Linked DNA regions of Homo sapiens: all the other regions are linked to region 1. Evidence: promoter capture Hi-C in 16 types of primary human blood cells and fetal thymus (Javierre and others, 2016). All regions are on one chromosome and are shown on one strand. The core of a region is centred on a gene start or on the middle of the fragment in contact, and the rest is flanking DNA. Distances in the headings are between cores, read along the strand shown. Region 1 holds the start of GCN1 (GCN1 activator of EIF2AK4). Region 2 has its middle 5.2 kb from the start of BICDL1. Region 3 overlaps BICDL1 (BICD family like cargo adaptor 1).

Region 1 (5,003 bases), core at 1,670-4,169:
GGGGCTGAATTGCTCTGCCAGGAGCATTTGGTATGAGATGAAATGGCCTCTCTTGAGACTGAGCTGCCAACCTGGCAATTATTGTCTGCTAAGGGTTCTCTTTATTCACCCTTACTTGGACTTCCTTTCCTGTAGGGAATCTCACGTAAAATGAAATCTTCCCTCCCCCAGGGTGTCCGCAATGTTGCCAGTGTCTGTCTGCAGATTGGCTACCCAACTGTTGCATCAGTACCCCATTCTATCATCAACGGGTACAAACGAGTCCTGGCCTTGTCTGTGGAGACGGATTACACCTTCCCACTTGCTGAAAAGGTAAAAGGATCCCACCAGGACCACAGTGGGCCTGACTGTGACAAATTAGCAGGGTGATGTGGCCTTCTACCTTACTGCTTTTATAGTTGTATTTTATATAGCAGATAATTTTGTGAGGGGATATTTGAGAGGTTGGGAGGCAGGGAAGGCGTTTCTCACTTGAGAAATGACAAGAGACCCAAAGAGGGGGTTAATGGGCAAGAGCTGGGCCTTAGGAACCCTGCCTCACTAGGCCATACCCAAGCTGTCCTGCTTGGGCTGCTTCTGACAGGAAAGGCTTCACACGGACTTTGATATTGTTGGTCCTTAAACTCTACCAAGGCAGGAGGGTGGTGGGTAATAGAGGAGTGTGGATGACCATTTTGACCACTTCCCCCCTCCTTTCAGGTCAAGGCCTTCTTGGCTGATCCATCTGCCTTTGTGGCTGCTGCCCCTGTGGCTGCTGCCACCACAGCTGCTCCTGCTGCTGCTGCAGCCCCAGCTAAGGTTGAAGCCAAGGAAGAGTCGGAGGAGTCGGACGAGGATATGGGATTTGGTCTCTTTGACTAATCACCAAAAAGCAACCAACTTAGCCAGTTTTATTTGCAAAACAAGGAAATAAAGGCTTACTTCTTTAAAAAGTCTCTGGACTCTTAATTTTGTAATTTTTTTTCCTTTTTGACACAGGGTCTGGCTGTTGCCCAGGCTGGAGTGTGGTGGTGTAATCATAACTCACTGCACCCTTGAACTCCTGGGATCAAGGGATCCTCGTATCTCAGCCTCCCAAGTAGCTGGGACTACAGGCACACACCATGACACTCAGCTACTAATTTTTAAATTTTTTTTTTGTAGAGATATTGCACAAGCTGGTCTCAAATTCCTGGCCTCAAGGAATCCTGCCTCAGCCTCCCAAAGTGCTAGGATTACAGGCTTGAGCCACCATGTGCCTGGCCCTTAATTTTGAGGTTTATAGTGCCATATGCTAGAAACGAAAGCCATGGTAAAACCAGAGCTTTGTATTTAGGTGTTGATGTTTGGGTATCTAAATGAAGCTACCAATCAAACATCCTATACAGTTTTCTAGACACAGTTGTAACTATTACACTAGAATTACTGTTTCTATGGCTGCTGCATACTTGGAGTAGGTTTAGTGTCAGCTGAGATAGGCACCTGGTGGATGCTGGGGCCAGTCCCCTAGAGTAAAGTTTTTCAAACTGGGTGGTGCTCCAACTCGGTGGTAACCAATTTATATTTTCGAGATAGTCTCAAATATATTTGAGACTGGGGTGCAGTGGCTTGGACTTGGCTCACTGCAACCTCCGCCTCCTGGGTTCAAGTGATTCTCCTGCCTCAGCCTCCCAAGTAGCTGCAATTACCGGAGGCTGCCACCACACCGGGCTAATTTTTTTGTTGTTGAGACAGTCTCGTCCTGTCACCCAGACTGGAGTGCAATGGTATGGTCTCAGCTCACTGCAACCTCTGCCTCTCGGGTTCAAGCGGTTCTCCCACCTCAGCCTCCCCAGTAGCTGGGACTACAGGCATGTGCCACCACTCGGCTAATTTTTGTACTTTTAGTAGAGACGGGGTTTCACTATGTTGGCCAGGCTGGTCTGGAACTCCTGACCTTGTGATCTGCCCGCCCTGTCCTCCCGAAGCGCTGGAATTATACAAGGGTGAGCCACCGCACCCGGCCTTTTTTTTTTTTTTTTTTTTTTTTGGTATTTTTAGTAGAGACAAGGTTTTGTCATGTTGACCAGGCTGGTCTGGAAATCCTAACATCAGGTTGATCTACCCACCTCAGCCTCCCAAAGTGCTGGGATTACAGGCGTGAGCCACCATGCCTGGCCCCAGTATTTAAAGAGAAAGCAGCATCTGCTGAGAATAGGTGTTTTTGTTGTGATTCCTGTATTTCACTTAGAGATCTGTCTGCTGGAACATGATATATTCATTCTAACTAGGTCTGTGTCAAAGGTTTGAAAGCCACTGCTAACAGGGCTGACAACTAAGCTGTGGAGACCCTGTTCCCTAAATTGCAGCCACGTCTGCACGTAGCCTCTTGCCCTGTGGCCTTCAAAACTCCCAGCCTGGGGCGTCCAGCATTTCCCCAGGGCAGGGGCCTCGTTCAGTTCTGAACCTTCCCTGACCTCCGTATCCAGCCACGTTTGCTAACCCTGTACAAGTCATCCGCCAACTGAACTACAAACTGAGGACAAAAGACTAGTTCACCGACTCTTTTACCTAGTTTTTAGTTCCTGCTATCTAGGAAGCAACACTTGTTTTTCTAAAGAACTTAGTCATCACTCAGGAAAGGCCCACGTAGGGCTGGCCCTGCGGGCTGGAAGTGGGTCAGGGGCTGCAAGGCGGGCCCATAGCGTTACACCGCGGGCTCACCACGTTACAAGCGCTAGTCTCCCACGAGGCGCCCGGGGCTGAAGAGCGGGCCCTGGGGAGGAGGCCTTGTGGCTCGGGCGCGGGCCAACTTTAAGCCCGTGATCCGGCTGCCCGGGCTGCAGCGGCCGCCGTCCTGCCCGGGGGCACCAAGCCCGGGGCCCTGCCCCCGCTGGCTCCCGGCCTCGCCCTGCCGCGTGGGCCACGCTGTGACCCGGAAGCGTTCCGGAAGCGGTTCCGGAGTCAGCCCCGGCAGGATGGCGGCGGACACGCAGGTGAGGCGGGCGGCTGCGGGGCCAACGCGGCCAGGGACTGGGTGCGGACGGTGGCCGTCGGGCGGGGCCCCTCTCGCTCCTCGGCTTAGGGGCGTTGGAGGTGGTGGCTGTGGAGGTCGTAGTCTCGGGGCCGTCTCAGGCTGGACTCTCAGGGCTGCGGGCTTGGCCCGGCCCGGGCGGCGCAGGCAGACCGCGGGCTCGAGGAGTCCGGGGCTCCCGCCTCGACTTCAGCAGCTGGAGCTCGGCGGGGCCTTTGCCCGACCCCAGAGTTGCAGAAGTTCACTTTACCGAGCCTCTACTTCTTTTCTCCAAAGCCCTCCGGCTGTGAGCCCCGGGCCAACGCCAAGTCTTCCTTAAACTTTGTATTCAGCAAATATTCTTTGAGCACCTACTATGAGCAGGGACTTTGAGTGTAGTCTTTGGATTCATACAGATCTGGGCTTGAGTTCCTGCTCGTCGATTTCTGTGACATGCCAAACAAGTGACTTAACCCCGCCAAGTCTGCCTTTTCATCTATAAAATGAAGTTAAAACAATACTTATCTTAAAAGGTTGTTGTGAAGGTTCAGTGAGATAAAATACGGCTTGATATATGTTGGTTGTTATCAGATCCAGGGTTAGTGAAAAGAACTGTCCTGTCCAGGAAGAGTGTTACCTATGGGTACCTTGTAGTTCAGGAAGGACCTGGGAAAACCTTTTCCTCCACCCAGTTGTTATGTTTTAAGGTGAAAAGACATTGTCATGAGGCAGGGGAAGAACAGGTGTCTAAGGACAGCTGGGCTGATTTGGTGTCTCCAGGGTGATGGGATTGATTTTTATGTGTAGGCCCAGAAAATGACCACTTAAGCATTCAAAAAGACATTTACTGAGACTCCTATGCAGGTGGCTGATGTTCAAGTTATGTTGTACTGAATACTAGAAAGAAAAGCTTAGTATGAGAGGGTTAGGGGAATACATGCTGAATGTTTAACATTGATACTCACTTGAGGGAAAAATCTCTAGAGCTGCAATGTCCAGTATGGCAGCCACATGGCTTAAGTTTGTTAAAATTAAATTAAATAAAAAAATTCATTGTTTGGCTGGGCGTGGTGGCTCACCCTGTAATCCCAGCACTTTGGGAGGCCAAGGCGGGTGGATCAGTTGAGGTCAGGAGTTTGAGACTAGTCTGACCAACGTGGCAAAACCCCGTCTCTACTAAAAATGCAAAAAATTAACCGGGTATGGTGGCATGTCTGTAATTCCAGCTACTCAGGAGGCTGAGGCATGAGAATCGCTTGAACCTGGGAGGCAGAGGTTGCAGTGAGCTGAGATCGCACCACTGCGCTCCAGCCTGAGCAACAAGAGTGGGACTCTGTCTCAAAAAAAAAAAAAATTTAGTTCTTCACTTGTACCAGCCACATTTCAGTGCACAGTTAGCCACATGTAGCCAGTGGCTACCGTATTGGGTGGTGCAGGAGAATATTTCTGTATTTTATAATTTTTGTATTTTTAGTAGAGATGGGGTTTCTCCATGTTGGCCAGGCTGGTCTCGAATTCCTGACCTCAGGTGATCCTTCTGCCTTGGCCTCCCAAAGTGCTGGGATTACAGGCGTGAGCCACCGCACCTGGCCTGAAATTATTTTTTATTATTTTATTTTATTTTTTGAGACGGAGTTTCTCTCTTGTTGCCCAGGCTGGAGTGCAATGGCACGATCTGAACTCACTGCAACCTCTGCCTCCCAGGTTCAAGCAATTCTCCTGCCTCAGCTTCCCGAGTAGCTGGGATTACAGGCATGCGCCACCATGCCCGGCTAGTTTTTGTAGAGACAGGGTTTCACCATGTTGGGTAGGCTGGTCTCGAACTTCTGACCTCAAGCAATCTGTCCGCCTCTGTCTCCCAAAGTGCTGGGATTACAGGCGTGAACCACCATGCCCGGCCTTGTCTTCAGTATTCTTTTTTTTTTTTTTTCGAGACGGAGTCTCGCTCTGTCGCCCAGGCTAGAGTGCAGTGGCACAATCTTGGCTCACTACAACCTCTGCCTCCCGGGTTCAAGCGATTCTTCTGCCTCAG
Region 2 (5,003 bases), core at 858-3,357, 210 kb after region 1:
TGGTGGTGTGTGCCTATAGCCCCAGCTACTCAGGAGGCTGAGATGGGAGGGTGAGTTGAGCCTGGAAGATCAAGGCTGCAGTGAGCCCTGATCATACTATTGCACTCCAGTCTGGGTGACAGAGCAAGAACTTGTCAAAAAAAAAAAAAAAAAAAAGAGTTTCAGCTCTTTTTCCTTAATGCAGACATGCAGCCTATCTTTCAAAAAATGACTTTGTTTGCCTGCCTTGAGCCCAATGGTCCTAATCTGTTCCACTTATCTGTTACTGTGAAAATGAACTGTTACAATTCTAACTCCAGCTTCTGAATTTCCTTCCTAACAATGTTCCACTGCTGAACCTTACTAGGAAATGTTCACTTCTTACAGTAGGTTTGGCTCTAAGCACTGTCTTTCTGGGAGAACCAGCCCAACTTTGCAGAACTATTCAAAATAGTGGTTCTTAAACATTTTGGTCTCAGAATCTCATTACACTCTTGGGCCGGGTACGGTGGCTCATGCTTGTAATCCTAGCACTTTGGGAGGCCGAGGCAGGCAGATCACTTGGGGTAATGAGTTCAAGACCAGCCTGGCCAGCATGGCAAAACCCTGTCTCTACTAAAAATACAAAAATTAGCTGTGCATGGTGGCATGTGCCTGTAGTCCCAGCTACTCAGGAGGCTGAGGCGGGAGGATCGTTTGAACCTGGGAGGCGGACGTTGCAGTGAGCCAAGGTCACGCCACTGCACTCCAGCCTGGGTGACAGAGTGAGACTCCATCTCCAAAAAAAAAGTTTTTAAATAATTAATTCATTTTAAATATTTATGATAAACCTATTATATGTAACTATAATGAATTTTTATGAACAATAACTATATGGTCCTAAATGTAAAAAAAACTAGTGAGAAGAATGGCGTTATTCTTCATTTTTGTAAACCTCTGTAATGTATGGCTTAACAGTAGAAAAGTGAATTCTTGTATTTGGATATATCTATAATGTATGATATTTTGAAATATATGAAGAAAATTTGGACTCACAAAGATATGTGGTTGGGAAAAGGAGGAATATTTTAGTAGCCTTTTCATTTTGGATATTTTTCTTTGATATTACACCCAAACTTGACAAGTTATAGTTTCTTTCTTTCTCTCTCTCTCTCTCTTTCTTTCTTTCTTGAGATGGAGTCTCACTCTGTTGCCCAGGCTGGAGTGAGTGCAGTGGCGCAATCTTGGCTCGCTGCATCCTCCACCTCCCAGGTCAAGTGATTCTCCTGCCTCAGCCTCCCAAGTAGCTGGGACTACAGGCATGTGCCCCCACACTTGGCTAATTTTGGTATTTTTAGTAGAGACGGGGTTTCACTATGTTGGCCAGGCTGGTCTTGAACTCCTGACCTCAGGTGATCCACCCACCTCAGCCTCCCAAAGTGCTGGGATTACAGGCGTGAGCCACTGCGCCCAGATGACAAGTTGTAGTTTCTTAAAGGTTAGTTGCAATGTGAAATCTAAAACCATGTCAAGGAAATCCCATTGATCTATTTTTCACTTTGAATGGATTTTTTACATATGTATGATTGATTGTATAACAGCATGTATTTTCATTTGGAAAATGTCTGAGTTATGCAGATCTTACAAATATTGTCACATGTCATTACACAATATCAGCCTAATCACATTCATTAATATCACCACCACTGATCTCATCATAAAAGTCTTTAAGTATTGAGAAGTTACTAAGCTTGAGTTTTATCATTAGTAACAAATATTTTGAGTTGTTTTCCTTGAAGTAACAGACTTACTTCATTAATTCTTGAGAAAATATCTGCCAAATACCCGAATCTGAATACCACAGTTTGTGTCATTCATTCAGGTAAAAACAGTGTTCCGTGAAAAATGTGGCTAGTTAGTTCCCAACTCAAACGGAGGTACAAGTGCTTCACCTCAAGATAACCATCATACTTCAGTACACAGCAGAAGTGCTTTGTGGGTACTTCCCATTTCATCACATGAAATATTAAAAAGATGTGCACTCAAGGGTCTGGACTTAATAGAAGTACTGCTTCGTCAGGGACATTGGTTAATAAAACTAGCTTCTGTTTTTTCTATGAGCACATGAAAGTGAAGACTACCATGTGTACCAGCACAGCTGGGTAACACTGCCTTGACTCATGCTAAGGTATCAGTGGTGTTACCTACCATTGCTTTTGCACCATCAGTGCAAATGTCAACATAATTACAAACAAAAATAGTATTAGATGATTAGCATTATTATGAAATTAGTTTGCTATTGTTAATAACATTAGAATGATAATCCTTACACTTATTATGAAAATAGTTCTTTTCTTGGTAGCCCTCTGAAAGACTCTAGGACCTTTAGGAGCCGGTGCACCACACTCTGGGAACTGCTGATTCAAGTCCATTAGGTCAGCCTTGAGGTAACAGAATGAATATATACCTGCCTATATGGAAATTAGTGCCAGGATTTAAAACTCATTAAAGCCAAGTTATGAAAACCATCAGACTTCTAAGAAGCTTATTAAATTTATTCTTCTTCATGCTAGAACAATAACAGCTAAAATACATTTAGCACTGTGCTCCTTAAATCCTTTATGTAACACTCTCTCATTTAATCCTCACAATAACCCTATAATGGTAGTGTGTTACACCAATATATACTAGTACATGATACTATGATGCTAGTGTTTTAGAACTGTCTGTCTCTAATGGACTTGTTCTTAGTTACTCTACTGCACTTCACTTTTTATCACTTATGTATTCCTTTAAAATATATTTGCATTAGTGTTAGTTTTAGTACCTGGATAGTCTGGTAAACTTGAGTATGAGTACAGTTTACATACTTAACATACTATGGGTGAATTTCCACGTAAGTGCTATTACATCACTAAGGGCAAAACATGACATTTTTCCTTCTTAGAGATCCTGATATCTACAAATATGACAACGCTCATCCGATTTCCCCAAGTTGTTTACTTTTATTAACATCTTGGTCCGTGAAAACTGGAAAGTGTAAAAGACAAAACGTCTCGAAAATTTGTTTTTGAAAAGCCAAGTGTTGAAGAAACATGAGGAACTGGCAAAATGTGTAATAAAGCTGTTCTATGCTTGATATTTTCATTTAGCTATGATGTGTGTGTTTGTGTGCACCAGCAGATCACGCGTGTTTTAAGTTGTATATTTTGTCTATGAAATAATCGTGGAAACATACAAGTCTTGGACATTCATCAAATGTTACCCAAAGCACTTTATATTTTTTAGAGAGGAGTGATCTCAACATTTTGCAGAATGTGGTGTGTATACCCCTGGTGGTTCTCAAGTTGGTTTTTAGGGGAAAAATGTTAACATCAGTGGCTGGTGCTCACCGGTGTCAGTCTTCAGCAGAGACCCTGCCCTGCCTGATGTCGGGAAGTTCCTTCTCTGCTACTCAGAAGGTAAATAGAAGCCTCATCTTGTCCCTATATGGATACACAGTGTGAGTTCCCAACTTCCTCTCCTCCAGCTTCTATCCTTTCCTACCAACATCCTTGCCCAACTTTTCCCTTCCAGATGAGAACTCCTCTCTCCCAAGGATTTGCCTAATACCCCAGGTCTAGCTGCCCTGTTACCTCTGCCAGTTATTTTCTGACAACTGTCATTTCCAGCTTCTGACCCATTTTTCCTCCCTTCTGATTAGGCATCTTCAGTCTTTCCCCTTAATGATCATGAACCAGACTTCCTGGGCTGCATCTAGTTCTGCCACTTAGGAGTTGGATGACTTTGGACCTCTATGCCTCAGTTTCTTCATTTATAAAATGGGGATAATGGTAGTACTTACCTGATAAATTTGGTCTTAAGACAGAAAGATTTCAGATACGTACAGCTCTTAAAAATGAAGCCTGATAGGCCAGGTGTGGTGGCTCACACCTGTAATCCCAACACTTTCAGAGGCCGAGGTGAGTGAATTGCTTGAGCCCAGGAGTTCAAGACCAGCCTGGGTAACATAACAAAACCCTGTCCCTACAAAAAAATAAAAAATAAATTAGCCAGGCATGGTGGTGTGTGCGTTTCATCTCAGCTACTGGAGAGGCTGAGGTGGGAGGATCACCTGAGCCCAGGAGGTTGAGGCTTTAGTGAGCTGTGTGCCACTGCACTCCAGCCTGGATGACAGAGCAAGACCCTGTCTCCAATAATAATAATAATAATAAGAAGAAGAAGAAGTAATACTTACTTAATAAGGTCAGTCTTAAGACAAGAATATTTCAGATATGTTTAAAATGGAGCCTGGCAGGCCAGGTGCAGTGGCTCACTCCTGTAATTTCAGCACTTTGGGAGGCCGAGGCTGGAAGATCGCTTGAGGCCAGGAGTTTGAGACCACCCTGAGCAACACAGAGAGATCCTCTGTCTCCCACCTATAGTCTTAGCTACTCCTGAGGCTGAGACATGGAGTTTGAGGATGCAGCGAGGCGGTGAGCTACTATCGCGCCACTGCACTCCAGCCTCGGTCTCAGAGCGAGACCCTGTCTCTAAAAACCAACCAACAAACAAACAATCTGGGCTTTCTGAATTAGATCTGTCATTAACCAGCTGTGTAGCTATGTACAATTGAACAAGGCATTTAATGTGCCTAGGCTTTGGCTTCCTTATCTGTACGGTATGAAGTTGGCCTGGTAATCACCCCTGTATGCTCTAAACCAGTAGTTCTCAACTGGGGGTGATTTTTTTTTTTTTAAGACGGCATCTCACTGTGTCAAGCAGGCTGGAGTGCAGTGGCATGATCTCGGCTCACTGCAACCTCCAGCTCCTGGGTTCAAGCGATTCTCCTGCCTCAGCCTCTCTAGTAGCTGGGATTACAGGTACATGCCACCATGCCCAGCTCATTTTTGTATTTTTAGTAGAGAAAGGTTTCACCATGTTGGCTAAGCTGGTCTCAAACTGCTGACCTCACGTGATCCGCCTGCCTCAACTTCCCAAAGTGCTGGGATTACAAACATGAGCCACCGTGCTTGGTCTGGGGGTGATTTTGACCTCCTCCTAGG
Region 3 (5,003 bases), core at 1,408-3,907, 180 kb after region 1:
AATCAACAGAGCCAAAATAAACCCAGGTTCATCTAGTGCCAAAACCTGCATTCATTTCACTACAGCATACAGCCTCCTAGAAAGAGTGATGGATGAAATATACCCTGACTTCAAGATTTAAGGTTTTGCTTTCATTCCACACAATCTTTCTCAGACACTGACTGTGCTACTTAGGTGGAAGAAAGGCTTACCTGAAAGGTTCCTCCAGTGCCTTGGAACTCTCAGATTCTAACAGGGAATCTGAGAGAGTCCATTTTGTTCAATTTCCTTACCAATGAAGGAATTAAGTTGTAACACTGGCTACTGATACTAAATTGGGCAAGAACAGCTGTCTCCAATCCTGGTTTCACGTTAGAATGGTAATTCTCATCTTTGCCTACACATTACAATCACCTGCTTTTAAAAATCTAGATGCCCAGATCACATCCCAGAGCAGTTAAGTCAAATCTCTGAGGGTGGGACCAGACATCGGTATCCAGCGCAAAAGCTGCCCAGGTGATTCTAATATGCAATCAGGGATGAGAATTACAGCTTTAGAACACAGGAATAGCATTTACTAAATGACTTTGACAGATTGCTGGTGGGGAGAAGGTTCCTATCCAAAAAGATGAAACCAAAGGAAACGGGTAGATATAAACAGCAATCTGAAGTCAGCAAGAATCAAGCATGGAAACAGGTGTTTGCAAGTATCCACACAGTCCCCATTTCAAAAAAGTTTGTGAAAAGCAGACTACTATTAATCTCACCTAATTCAGGTTAAGTTAGAATTCTCAGCTGTTGGCTCCACAGCCTATACTCGATTAAATCATACTGCTTTCTACTAATACTAGCTGCCACTAATTGAGCAACTATTATGCGGCCAAATCTTGACACATTTTCTTTTTTTTTTCAGGCAGGGTCTCACTGTGTCACCCAGGCTGGAGTACAGTGGTGTAATCATAGCCTACTGCAACCTTGAACTCCTGGGCTCAAGTGATCCTCTTGCCTCAGTCACCCAAGTAGCTACAACTATAGACCTGTGCCACCATGCCCAGCTTATTTTTAAAAAAATTTTTGCAGAGACGGGTCTTGCTATGTTGCCCACGCTGTTCTCAAACTCCTGGGCTCAACCAATCTTCCTGCCTTGGGATATATTTTCATTTAGTCTTCAAACAACTTTATGAGGCAGGTCTCCATTTTACAGATGATGCATAAAAAGACACAAAATAACTTACATTTATTTCTAAACAAGTCATCTGGATCAGTGGCTCCCAACTTACAAACCATGAATCCTTTGGGGACACCGAGTTGCTTTAAGAGCACTGCCTCTATACTGAACACATCATGTTAATACACGCTGTTTTGATTCTAGAATATAAATCCTTTTAAAAGTATTACTCAATCCCTGTGTTGTTTTATCAATCTGCTGATATAAAACAACATCTAGGCTGGGCACGATGGCTCACGCCTGTAATTCCAGCACTTTGGGAGGCCAGGGCAGGCGGATCACAAGGTCAGGAGATCTAGACCATCCTGGCTAACACAGTGAAACCCTGTCTCTACTAAAAATACAAAAAATTAGCCGGGTGTGGTGGCGGGTGCCTGTAGTCCCAGCTACTCGGGAGGCTGAGCTCAGCAGGAGAATGGCATGAACCCGGGAGGCAGAGCTTGCAGTGAGCCGAGATCGTGCCACTGCACTCCAGACTGGGAGAGAGAGCGAGACTCCGTCTCAAAAAATGAAATAAAATAAAGTAAAATAAATCTATTACCATGTGAAGGTCTACAATTTTTTTTTTTTTTACATACTAAAAAGGAGTCCTCTTGTGGAGAAACTGGAACTCTCACGCATTGTTGGTAGGAATATAAACTGGTACAAGCTTCTTTGAAAATAAGTTTGGCGGTTTCTTAAAAAGTTACAGACAGGACAGGTGTGGTGGTTCACACCTGTAATCCTAGCACTTTGGGAGGCTAAGATGGACAAACTGCTTGAGCCCAAGAGTTCAAGATCAGCCTGGGCAACATGGCAAAACTGTCTCTACAAAAAATACAAAAATTAGCTGGGCATGGTGGCACATGCCTGTAGTCCCAGCTACTTGGGAGACTGAAGTGGGAGAATCACCAGAGTAGTGAGCCATGATCACGCCACTGTACTCCAGCATGGGTGACAGAGTGAGACCCTGTCTCAAAAAAAAAAAAAAAAAAAAAAAGGTTACAGACATACCATATAGCAATTCCACTCCTAAATATCTACCCAAAAGAAATGAAAGTGTAAGTCCAAAGACTTGTACATGAATGTTCCTAACAGCACTATTCATAATAGTTGAAAATTGGAAACAATCCAAATCTCCATTAACTGGTTATGGATAAACAAAATGCAGTATATTCACACAATGGAATACTAAAAAAGGAACTATTATGTGCTATAACACGAGTGAACCTCACAGACGTGATGCTAAGTGAAAGAGGCCAGACACAAAAACTATATATTGCCTGATTCCATTTATATGAAATATCCAGAAAAGGAAAATCAATACAGACAGAAAACAGATCAGTGTTTTCCTGGGGCTGCGGGTGGGGACAGGAGTGAAGACTGAATGCAGAACGATATGGGGGAACTTTTTGGGGTAGCAGAAATGTTCTAAAATTGGATTATGGTGATGGCTGCACAACTCTGTACATATGCTAAAAATTGAATTATACATTTACAGTGGGTGAATTTATAAACTGTAAATTATACTTCAATAAGGCTGTTTCAAAATATTGTAGAAGGTCATTGGATTAGGTTTTAAAAAGGGGGTTCCTTACACTGAAAGACTGGGAACCAGTGATCTGGACAATGGAAAAGGAATTCAGCAAGATTAAGTATATATTAAGAGAAGTGAAATAATTCTCTGGGTGGGTTCAACCTTTTAGTAAATGGTCAAGTTTGCTATACATTTGAACCACAGAACTAAGTAACATATGCTTAGCTGGCTTGTGAATCTAGTTCTAACACATACGAAGTTTCCAGATAAGGTGCTCAGCCCTGTGGGGGAGGTGCCCTGAGTGCACAGTCCTTGACTCAATGGAGTCAAATACATGAATTAACCGTAAGAGATGACAGAATGTAAATGACAAAAGAAAGGGACTAAAGCACTCTAGTTGGTAAGTAGGAGAGATCAAAGCTGGTGGGAGAAGAACAGCAAAGTTCTCATGAAGGAAGTGGCAACTGAGCCTGGCCTTCAGGACTGGGGGAAATTCCAACGGTGGTACAAGTAGAAAGAAGAGGCAGGGCTGGAAATGTGTGCTAGGTCCAGAAGGTACAGGGCTTTGAATGCCATGCCCTTTCTTATTTGTTATGCCAAGGGAGTCCCCTAAATGCAGTAAGAGTTGTTTAGAGCTTCCAAAGAGGAAGGTATCTGACAATGGGAAAAAATGGAGGAGCAGAGCTTAAAGGCAAGGAGATGTTTCAGGTTATTGCATAAAGTTAAGAAAGCTTCAACAAGCTTTCCCTTCCCACTGCAAGTGGGAAGGGGCAGACTCTTGAATTCTCTGGTCTTGGGGCAAGGGAGGGAAGATCCATCTTGAATTATGTGTCCTCTCTTGAGGGTTTCAGCTTTGTCACTTTCCCTGACTCTCATAAGATTTGTCTGTCTCTCCCACTGACAGTTAAAAGTCCATAACCTATAACTTTAGCAGACTGTATTTTCAGAAGACATGTTTTCACTCATTTTTTTTTCAAACAAAGGATTCTATTTGGTAAATAAATTCCTTTCATTTTAGGGAAGTAACATGACATACAAATAATTTTTTTTATTTTTTAATTTTTTTTTAGAGATGGGAGTCTCACCATGTTGCCCAGGGTGGTCTCGAACTTCTGGGATCAATCCTCCCACCTTGGCCTCCCAAGTGTTGAGATTACAGGTGTAAGCCACCACACCCAGCCAAGAATGGTTTGCTTTTTTTTTTTTTTGAGATGGAGTCTCGCTCTGTCACAGGCTGTAGTGCAGTGCCGTGATCTCGGCTCACTGCAACCTCTGCCTCCTGGGTTCAAGCGATTCTCTTGCCTCAGCCTCCTGAGTAGCTGGGATGAAAGGCACGCGCCACCACACTTGGCTAATTTTTGTATTTTCAGTAGAGACGGGGTTTCATCATGTTGGCCAGGATGGTCTCGATCTCCTGACTTTGTGATCTGCCCGGCTCAGCCTCCCAAAGTGCTGAGATTACAGACGTGAGCCACTGCACCGGTGCAAGAATGGTTTTTTAATTCAAACTCTGCTGGTTTTCAAAATAGATGTTACTTTTGAAAGATGCCTCAATCCGATGCTACATTAAATTTTATTTTGGTTTTTGAGGAATAATTCAAATACTAAGCAGAATGCAAGGCTTCGAGTTGACTTGAAGTAACTGGTAGGTAGGTTCTATGTAGGGCTCCTTTTAAATATTGAAGTTCTTCTTTAATAATAGCTTTCTGTCTGCTAGGTTTTTAAGTAAACAGACTGCATAAAACAAAACATGATCGTTTAAGTAAACAGAATTACTTTGCAAAGATTTTTACACCTTGTTTTTCAAAGATTTTTTATAACACACATTTACCTAAACCACAGGTTTACTGGCTGTGACCTTAGATGAGTCACATCCTCCTACGGCCTTAGTGCTTTCTTCAACTGTGAGATCAAAAGGTCAGACTAGACAAGAGCTAAATAACATGGGTTAACCTTGCCCTTCAACAACTGTAATATGCGGGGGTTTCCACCATCTTAAAACACTATGCTAGAAATCTAAAGTCAAATTAGTTATTACCTACATTTCAGTCTTCAGAACAAATCAATGAGACTTTTCTGGATCCCTGCCATAATATGCATGGCACTAAGTGTTGTTGGGGATAAAAACTGGTTAAAGGCTGGACACGGTGGCTCACGCCTGTAATCCCAGCACTTCGGGAGGCTGAGGCAGGCGGATCACTTGAGGCCAGGAGTTCAAGACCTGCCTAATCAACATGGCAAAACCCTGTCTCTACTAAAAATACAAAAATTAGCCAGGCG

Evidence for each region. Contacts are between HindIII fragments. The CHiCAGO score rates a contact against its expected background, and 5 or more counts as called.
Region 2: a contact is called between a fragment that was not itself captured here and the fragment with the promoter of GCN1 in region 1, in 2 of 17 cell types (activated CD4 T cells and naive CD4 T cells). The highest score is 7.0, in activated CD4 T cells.
Region 3: a contact is called between a fragment that was not itself captured here and the fragment with the promoter of GCN1 in region 1, in 2 of 17 cell types (activated CD4 T cells and total CD4 T cells). The highest score is 7.0, in activated CD4 T cells.

Annotation. Positions count from the first base shown.
Region 1 is chr12:120,192,631-120,197,633 of GRCh38, reverse strand. GCN1 (GCN1 activator of EIF2AK4) reads left to right here and starts at 2,919. Exons shown (of 58, transcript NM_006836.2): 1 at 2,919-2,954. The coding sequence starts at 2,937. It overlaps RPLP0 (ribosomal protein lateral stalk subunit P0), which reads left to right. Exons shown (of 8, transcript NM_001002.4): 7 at 172-312; 8 at 700-935. The coding sequence ends at 861. RefSeq lists a silencer at 2,622-3,211. The HindIII fragment of the contact is 5,843 bases long and covers 1-3,883 here.
Region 2 is chr12:119,981,557-119,986,559 of GRCh38, reverse strand. No RefSeq gene overlaps it. Among named protein-coding and RNA genes, the nearest start is that of BICDL1, 5.2 kb to the left of the region's middle. RefSeq lists a silencer at 656-837. The HindIII fragment of the contact is 794 bases long and covers 1,711-2,504 here.
Region 3 is chr12:120,013,618-120,018,620 of GRCh38, reverse strand. The region is part of intron 2 of BICDL1 (BICD family like cargo adaptor 1); the gene reads right to left. Among named protein-coding and RNA genes, the nearest start is that of BICDL1, 27 kb to the right of the region's middle. The HindIII fragment of the contact is 1,598 bases long and covers 1,859-3,456 here.